Regions from separate parts of the Homo sapiens genome. Here all the other regions are linked to region 1. Evidence: promoter capture Hi-C in 16 types of primary human blood cells and fetal thymus (Javierre and others, 2016). All regions are on one chromosome and are shown on one strand. Each heading gives the region's core, a stretch centred on a gene start or on the middle of the fragment in contact. The rest is flanking DNA. Distances are from core to core; before and after follow the strand shown. Region 1 holds the start of SLC22A15 (solute carrier family 22 member 15). Region 2 overlaps LOC112268235 (a long non-coding RNA gene). Region 3 has its middle 44 kb from the start of LINC01765.

Region 1 (2,768 bases), core at 223-2,722:
GGTTGCAGGAGAGTTTTACCAAACACTCACACTCATGTTATGAAAGCACTATAAAATCTTACTGCCAAATCTAGACATAAGCATCAGGAAGAAAAGAAAATTATAGGCCTAGTTCGCTAGTCACAGATGTAAAGTCCCTAGACAAAACACTAGCAAATTAAATTTGGCAATAAATAGCAATATCGTGAGCAAGTATTAATAGGATTTATTCCAGTAAAGTTCAATATCAAAAAAACTATTACCATAATGTACCCGATTATCAGATTCAAGAAGAAAAACAATAGGATCATGTCAATAAATGCAAAAAGCACTTATTAAACTTCAGCATTTATTAATAATGAGGATTCGTAGGAAACAGCCAAAGAAGGAAACTTTTTAAACTATTAATAGTACTTATACAGAAAACGTTTCCTTAAGTAAGAGAGAGAAAAAAATCTTAAGAGTTTATAGAGTTTACAGTTTCCAACCCACTGATAAATTCAATTACAGTGAGCATTCATTTAATTGCTAAAAAAAGAAAGCAGCTGACCAGTAAAGCCTAGCTACCAATACGCTGCAACAGACATCACAATTAACGGAAAATTTTGGAAGCATAAGAAGGATACTGGCAGGTCAAGGACACTAGCTGGTCGCCATTTCTATTCAATGTTAAACTAGAAGTCATGGTCTAGACAATGGAATACTATGCAGCTGTTAAAAAGACAACACATAATAAACAAAAAGGCAAATGAGGTTAGGAGGTGGAGGCATGAGGGGACTAACGCAGGTGTCCAGCGTCCCTTGGCCCTGCCACGCTTTTTTTTTTTAATTTCCACCTGACAAACTGCCGTTTATCCTTTAAATACCTTGGCAGCCATCACATCCTGCCCCTTCGTCTTTTGCACTTCCTTTGTACCTCGTGCATACTTCTATAAGCAAATGTATCCGACGGTTTTACAAGAATTTGCTTGCCTACCAGTGTACTTAACCCATGGCTAGCACAGAATAGGACTGGAAAGAAATGCTGCACAGACAGCACTTTTCTCTGAAGGCTCTAGGGCTCCCCAAGCCCCCGCATTAAACTGGTTTGGGCAAAACGACAGGCATTGCTGAGAGCCGCCAGGCCGCCCGCCAGCTGCGGGTCCCCTGTAGGCAGAGCCCTGGGTCACACGCGGACGCGGTCCCGATGTTTCTTCTCAGGCCCTCAGCCCGGCCCACTTCCTCTTTCCTCACTTTAAGGCGCAGACAGCGGTCCCTCTCAAAACAAAACGTACACCAAAACACCATTTTTTTTTTAAACAGGAAGTCCAGAGGCCCGGGTCCAGGGCATCCAGCCCCGGATCTCGAACGCCCTCCTCGCCCCTCGCCCCGCGTAGCCCGGCTGCGCTCCCCGCTCCCCGCCCGGCGTCCACCTCTCGAGCCTGACAGCCCCGCCGCCCGCGCAGGCGCCCCGCCCCGGCCCGGCCCGCCCCGGCCCCGCCGCCAGCGCTTCCATCCCCGCCCCGGCGGGTCCAAGCCGGTGCCGGGCGCCCAGGGGTTGCCGCGCTGGGCGGGAGGGCAGCGCCTGAGAGGGCGGTGGGGTGGCGGGGTTCCTGCGCGCGGCCCGCCATGGAGGTGGAGGAGGCGTTCCAGGCGGTGGGGGAGATGGGCATCTACCAGATGTACTTGTGCTTCCTGCTGGCCGTGCTGCTGCAGGTAAGTCCCCGCGGCCCCGCAGCCGCATTTCCCTCTTCAGGGCCGCCCGGCGCAGGGCTAGGCGTCCGCTCCCAGACCGCCGGGGCCGGGGCCGAGGCCGAGGCTCTGCAAACACCGAGGTGTGGCGAGCGTCGGGGTGGGGCAGGGGCGAGGCGCCGCGCGGTGGCCTGGGCCCGGCCGGCAGCGTCAAGGTCGCCGGCCGGCCTCAGAGCCTCTTGGGTTCTGCTGGGCCCTCCACCCCGCCACCTTGAGTGGTGGAAGGAGCGTGTTGGGGGAGGTTTCTCAGCCGCTATGCTGGTTAAGGAGGGATGCAAAATTGTGTTACCTGCCCTACGCTGTTGCCTATAACACGCTGCAAATATGAAGGGAATTGTTACCCTACCTGTGGCACTGTCACCTTGGAATCTAGGACACAGTCTTGATAATCTGCAGACAAAAGGTTGTGTCTAGGATCGCCTCCCTCTGCGCCGGGTGTCCTCTGCCTCTTTTCCTGGGCTTGAGGGGGCTTACTCTTCTAGGGGCTTTCAAAGCATAGGATTTATTTCCCTCTGGTTTAAGTTCTGCTGGCTCATTCGGCCCTGCGCCAGCCTTGGGCTGAGACTCCCGTGAGCCGAATAGTGCCATCTACCATGTGTGGTTATCAAATGGAATCACTTCTTCATTATAAAGAATTCTCAGAACCTACTTGTACACCCCAGCCTCAAAATATCGATTCCATATGCGAAAGGTCACTACAGATTAACTGCGCCAGGCAAGGATTAGTCCTTCACCAACTTAAATGGCTCATTTGACATTAGTCGCTTCTCTCAATATGCCAGAGGCATTTCATTCACAAATCCTTTCTTAGTATTTGCTGTGAGCCAGCCATTTTACTCTTTCCTTCAGTCATCAGGTTTAATACGGGCTAGGATGTGCTGAACATAGGGATGCCATGGTGGACAAATCATTGACTGCCCTCAGGAGCTTGCATTCCAGTGGCTGCGGGTGGGGCAGGCAGACAGTTAAGTAATTTAGTTAGCATGTGATGATAGTTATTCTGCAGGAAGTACAGAGTGGTCATGGATATAGCCACCAGTCCACAAGTTGCTTAAAGC
Region 2 (2,773 bases), core at 261-2,760, 520 kb after region 1:
CCACCCACCCTCGACTAACTGAATTTGAATCTTTGAGGGCACAGTCTGGGCATCTGCATATTCTGAAGTTCCTCGATGACCCCATGACCTGCCCAGTTTGGGAACCACTGGCTCAGGGGCCACATGGAAAAAAGGCCAGGCAGGGAGGGGCCGGGGCCTCTCAGACTTTGGGCTGGGCCATTTGTGTGATTCCCTAGTTCCCATCCCAGCCAGTGAGTTTCTTGGAGCAGACATTTCCTCTTACTTATCCCCTCTTACAATCCCCACACAGGGCTGGCCACGTTTAGTATGTGGGAGCTGAATTAAGTTTCCAAATCTCATGGCTCATGTCTGTAATCCCAATATTTTGGGAGGCCAAGGCGGGAGGATCACCTGAGCCCAGAAATTTGAGACCAGCCTGGGCAACATGGGAAGACCCTGTCTCTACAAAAATTTAAACGTTAAAAATATTTTTTAATTAAAATTTTGAAATGTCTCCCCTTCCTAGACCCTGAACCTGTTCAGTTCTCAAGTTGACATGTTCAGAGGCCTGGCTGGTAGAGCCCGGGCCTGGTCCCACAGAATCAGCATGGTCCTGAAACACAAGAGCACAGGAGGCAAAGCTGGAAGGGCCCTTAGAGAACCTCTAGTCCAATAGCTTTCAAATTGTAATCCTAGGTACCCTGGGGTCCCATGGTGGAACCTCAGAGAGCAGGAAAAGGGAAGGGCAGAGGCTCAGTGGGAGGAAATGCCGGCCCTCCCCCCACCTCCACCCTTCCTTCAACCAGGCCAGCTCTGCTTTCACAGCTTTGTGTGACTTTCGCAATAACCAAATGGCTTCCAAGCTTCTCCCCTTGCCAACCCCACCCCCAGCCCCTGTCTATTTTCCATCTGGTGTCCAGAATGATCATTTCAAAACATAAGGCTCATCATGTCCCTCTTCTGTTCAAGACCCTACATTTGGCTTTCCATTTCACTCAACAGCAATCCAAGGTCCTCTTCATGGCCGGCAAGTCCCACCTGTTCTCACCCCGGCTGCCCCTACCTCATCTCAGCCACGCTGGCCTCCTTCGTATCCCTGAATGCACCAAGCAGGCTCTTATCCGACACCTGGGCAGGTCTTCTTCCTTCTGCTGGAAACACTCTTCCCCAAATAGCTGCATCCCTTGCTTCCTCTTGTCCTGACCACCCTATCAAAAAAGGCATCCTGTTCCATCAGCCCAGCCCCTTCCTGTACTGTACTGACTGTCCCTACTGAAATATAGGCTCCACGAAGGGGAGGACTTTGTTTTTTTTTCACTGCTATGTCCCCAGCACCAAGAACAACAGTGGCTGGCACATAGTAGGTGCTCAATAAATAATGATTTCCTGATTTAATCAGATTGGTTTTGAGTCTAAAGTTATTTTGTACGTTTTCTTCTTTACACATTTCTCTATTTTTCAAATTTTCTGCAGTAAATATGCATGTTTTTACCATCAGAAAAAGCAGTAAATGACATAGTCTTTTCTCTAGGACCAATCTTTGGGAGACTCAGAGCTGCTAGAGAATAATTTAAGAAGATGAAGGGAGGCCCTGCCTTGAGCCCCTGGTTCTGAGCAGCACCAGGTCGGTCCTGGTAGACTATAACAATACCACTGATTCCTAATGGTGGATGGGGGAACTTAGTGGGGCTAAGCAGACCCCACTTACCTAACAGCATTTTGTCTTGGGGTCACTGGGGAAGGAGAGAGAAGGAGTGAAAACACGACCAGCAGCAACCCCCTCCCCACTGAAATGCACCAGGATCTCCCTAACCCGATACAACAGACATGAGGACATGGGCTCCCAAGCACCCTCCAGTAAGGCATTGTGGCCATAGGTCATTCTTTAACTGGCACAACTGGCTTTTCTCAGACAGACTTTCTCTTTATTTTCTTCAGGGACTATTACTCTGAGGCCTAGTACCTGCTGCCTCTGCTTATATGACTGAATCTAGAACAAAGAAGAAACATCTTAGCTGAGGGGTCAGGGCTCTGGCCTGACAGAAACCCTGTGGTCTTGTCTCCATGTCAGAGCCCCATGACTCCAAGTGGGTGGGAGTCCTGGGCTCGCCCATGACTCATTGTTCGAGTTCGTAGAGAACTCAGAAGTTCCATATGGAAGCACAGCCTCACAGGCTAGAGACAATTCAGGAAACGAAAGCCCCATTCACTTGATTATTGGTTCATTTTCTGATGGAAGCTTTGCTGATCCTCTTTCATAAGGACCATCTGAAATAGACAACTGAAAAGAGAACTAGGGGGCCATTTCCCTTCCCTCCTCTAGCCCCTGAGCTCGGTCATCAGAGTCATGTGGACCCTAGCCCCTGGAGCTGGATAGGGCCCAGGGGTCATCTGGCCACTGTCTGTTTCATTGTGACTTACCAGGCAGGCCCCCTGATACTCAGGGACACAGCTGCCTGCCTCCTGGGCTGACTTTCCTGCAATGCTCTAGAGCGGAGCCAGCCAGCTTCTCCAAGAAGCCGGTGGTAAATACTCGCTCTGGGCACTGTCACCTTTTCTTTGTTTTTTCCTTACAACCCTTTAGAAACATAAAACCATCCTGAGCTCACGGGCTTCACAGAAACAGGCTGTGAGGATAGGCAAAGTACAGCCCATGAGCAAGACCCAGCCCACTGCCTGTTTTTGTAAAATAAAGTTTTAGTGGACACAGCCCTGCTGATCTCTTGATGAATTGCCTATGGCTGCTTCCACGCTACTACAATCGTGGAATTCTGTAGTTGAGACAGAGCCTGTAAGGTCAATAAAGCCAAAA
Region 3 (2,871 bases), core at 242-2,741, 830 kb before region 1:
CTTTCTTCCCCATTAGGTCCCCAGCACATAGTATGCCTGGGGACATCTCTATGCCTCACTTTAAAAATCTCCTGATTCTACTCTTCCTGAAGAACTCCTACTTCCTCTTTAAGGTCCAGGGCAAATGTCACCGCTCATCTGAAGCAGTCCCTTAGCTCAGTGACTCCTCTGGGCAAAACAAATCATGTATCCTCCGTGTTTGTAAAGCACCCAATATGGCAGGTTTATTAGCTTCCTGCTCCATGAGTCTGCAGGCTCCTTGAAGAAAGGCATCATTTCTATCTGCTTCCTGGTTGTAGCTCCAGTGCCTAGCATGGTACCTGGCACATACTAGATGTCCACAAAATGTTTGTTGAATGACTAAATTAATGAATGTATCAATTAAAAGTCTCACCTCAAATCCCTTCATATGGGTCTATTGTGAGGTCCTTGGGGCTCTAACTGAGTCCATGATTTTCTTATTTTAAAAATCATGAAGTGGCCGATGCTGGTGTTCTCAGTAGAAACATGTTAGAGCTGGAAAACTTTCTATGCATTTCTTTTCTCTAAAGCAAAGTGAAGGTGGGGACTCTGGGCTCATTGCTCCTTTGTAATTCCTCTGTATTATACTGAACTGAGGAAGTTAATTTTCCCTGAATACTTTCGGCACTGTAGAATTTGTTTTTTCTCATGACTAACTTAAAGCTATTCTTACAGTTTAGATTTGTTTTGGGTCTTTAGGGGAAAAATTCTCTTGCTTTTTTTTTTTTTTAAATTTCTTCCTTATCCTTCTCAAATTCCATGCTTGCTTAGTCTTGTTTAAACAATTAGATTCACTTTAAGAAAGCTAAAATTAGAGCCACTATGGGGCAGCACTCCTGCCCAGCCAGCCATCTTTTCCTCTCCAGAAGAGCCTTTTTAATCTGAGTCCTTTTGCCAACTGATAAACACCTCATGAGCAGCACCCAGGCCGCGTCTTTCCAAGAGTTAGCTGTTTCTGGATGGAGATGACTTGTTCTTTGTTTAAGGGAGAGCCATTTACAATTTTTTTTTTTCATTGGATTGAAACTCCTGGGCCTGGTGCAGGCAAAGCTGAGAGAGGATGACCGTGGGGCCTAGGTGGATGCCATGTGTGAGCAGAAGACCTGCTTGGGTTGTAGATATGTGGACACCTCCCTCCCTCGCCAGCTTCATTTTTGCCCGAGCCTCAGCTTCCTGTCAGCTGGTGGTTGTGGGCAGGAGGTTACACATGGCACTGAAGCCCTGGAGCCCAGTGGTATCAAGTGGGAACAGAGGTGTCTTCCTAGAGCTCAGGGAAGTCTGAGGACGGTTTATGTGGAGTAACAGCCATCTGGGAAGCTGAATTCAGAAAGTGATTGCAGGGAATGGAAAGGAGTGGTATTTTTGGATCACCTTGCAAGCTTGAGGAATTGGGCTGGACATGTTCAAAACGTATTTTCATTTAGTCCTTGTGATAATGATCACTACCATTTGCTGAGCACTTAGCTTACACCAGGCAAATTACACACATGATTACATTCTGTCCTCAAAATGTTCCCCAGGGAGGACCTGATATTATTTCCATTTTACAGAATTGGAAACTGAAGCTTGGAGAAACTGGGTTTAAAGAACTTGCCCAAGGGTGGGAACCAGACTAAGCTCAACATCCTGTGCCCTCCACCAAGTCTACCCAGGCAGGGGGCTGAGGTCTTGAAAGTCAAGAGGGATTTTCAGAATACCATAAAATATGACCTATTGATTTTCCTCAAATGAGCAAAGAACAATTTCCCTAGCAAACAAATGATTATATTCTGTGCACACATTATTAAACCACAAGCAGCCTGGGGCCACAAAAAAGCCAGGTGTTGAAGGACAAATGCACATTGGTTTCTGAGTTTTTTTCATTAATAGTTTCTACTCATTCATTGTTTTGTCTTATGCTAGTTCTGGCTAACAGGCGAGTGGTAACAGGCACTGAGGGTGGAACAAAAATTGAAAAAAGTCTATATGTTCAATTTTTTTTTAGTGCATCAGGAAAGCTGATAATATTTAAGCAGTGTACCCCCCAGGCGTGCTTCCAGAACTCCACCGTTATTGATTCTGAGCAATACTGAGCGTGAATGTTGAAAGCAGGTGTTTGCGGGGGAAGGCTTGTTCCAAAGAATGATCTTTCTTCTGAGGTCTGACGATGCTGCACACCATTTTATGGGCAGATAATTTATCTCCTGTGTCCTTTTGCTTGAGGTTATTACCAAATTTGAAATGCTCAAGGACACTCTTGGGCCTATGAATGTGGCCTGAGTGTGCTAGAATAGGGGTGGAGGTGGAAAGGTGCTATTTCCCTGGAATTTTAGAAACGGTTTGGGATAATGCCTTAAGTGGACCACTGCACTCCCAGAAATTACCTAGTTAATCATCTTCTTCTTGGGAAGTTCTCCAACAGGAAGACTCACAGACCATCATTTTCTCTAACTTGCAAACATTCTCCCTGGGGGAGAACAAGAGCACTCTGGTGTGTCTTCCTGTCATCATTCCTCACAAGGGCTTTGAAGGTGTGAGCACTGCAGATTCCCACAGTGTTCGGAAGGATAGGGCTCTCTCTGCTTTACTGCTGTTATTATGCACAAGATCAGCTCTGTTGACAAAATCTCATGTGGACCTCCTGTTACTCCCTTCCTTTGGATGGTAAGGGTGGGTGCATGCGTTGGGTGGAGGAATGATACCAAAGCTACAGCAATGCCAGTGCATTTCTCCAAATCATCTCTATTAAGTCTCTGGAGTGAACAGGGACTGGGCCCCAGATGATAAGGCACTAATGAAATGATTGTGCTGTACTTTGCACTTGTGTAAAAGAACAGATGTTAAATAACAACAATAATAATAGTAATATGA

What was found. Contacts are between HindIII fragments. The CHiCAGO score rates a contact against its expected background, and 5 or more counts as called.
Region 2: a fragment that was not itself captured here is called in contact with the fragment with the promoter of SLC22A15 in region 1 in 1 of 17 cell types (M2 macrophages); the score reaches 6.4 in M2 macrophages.
Region 3: a contact is called between a fragment that was not itself captured here and the fragment with the promoter of SLC22A15 in region 1, in 1 of 17 cell types (naive B cells). The highest score is 8.0, in naive B cells.

The regions. Positions count from the first base shown.
Region 1 is chr1:115,975,041-115,977,808 of GRCh38, forward strand. It overlaps SLC22A15 (solute carrier family 22 member 15), which reads left to right and starts at 1,473. Exons shown (of 12, transcript NM_018420.3): 1 at 1,473-1,674. The coding sequence starts at 1,588. LOC101928977 (a long non-coding RNA gene) reads right to left here and starts at 2,236. Exons shown (of 5, transcript NR_125970.1): 1 at 2,057-2,236. RefSeq lists silencers at 1,320-1,549, 1,610-1,859. The HindIII fragment of the contact is 7,335 bases long and covers 1-2,765 here.
Region 2 is chr1:116,495,783-116,498,555 of GRCh38, forward strand. The region is part of intron 1 of LOC112268235 (a long non-coding RNA gene); the gene reads left to right. Among named protein-coding and RNA genes, the nearest start is that of LINC01762, 18 kb to the left of the region's middle. The HindIII fragment of the contact is 1,376 bases long and covers 823-2,198 here.
Region 3 is chr1:115,141,908-115,144,778 of GRCh38, forward strand. No RefSeq gene overlaps it. Among named protein-coding and RNA genes, the nearest start is that of LINC01765, 44 kb to the left of the region's middle. The HindIII fragment of the contact is 186 bases long and covers 1,399-1,584 here.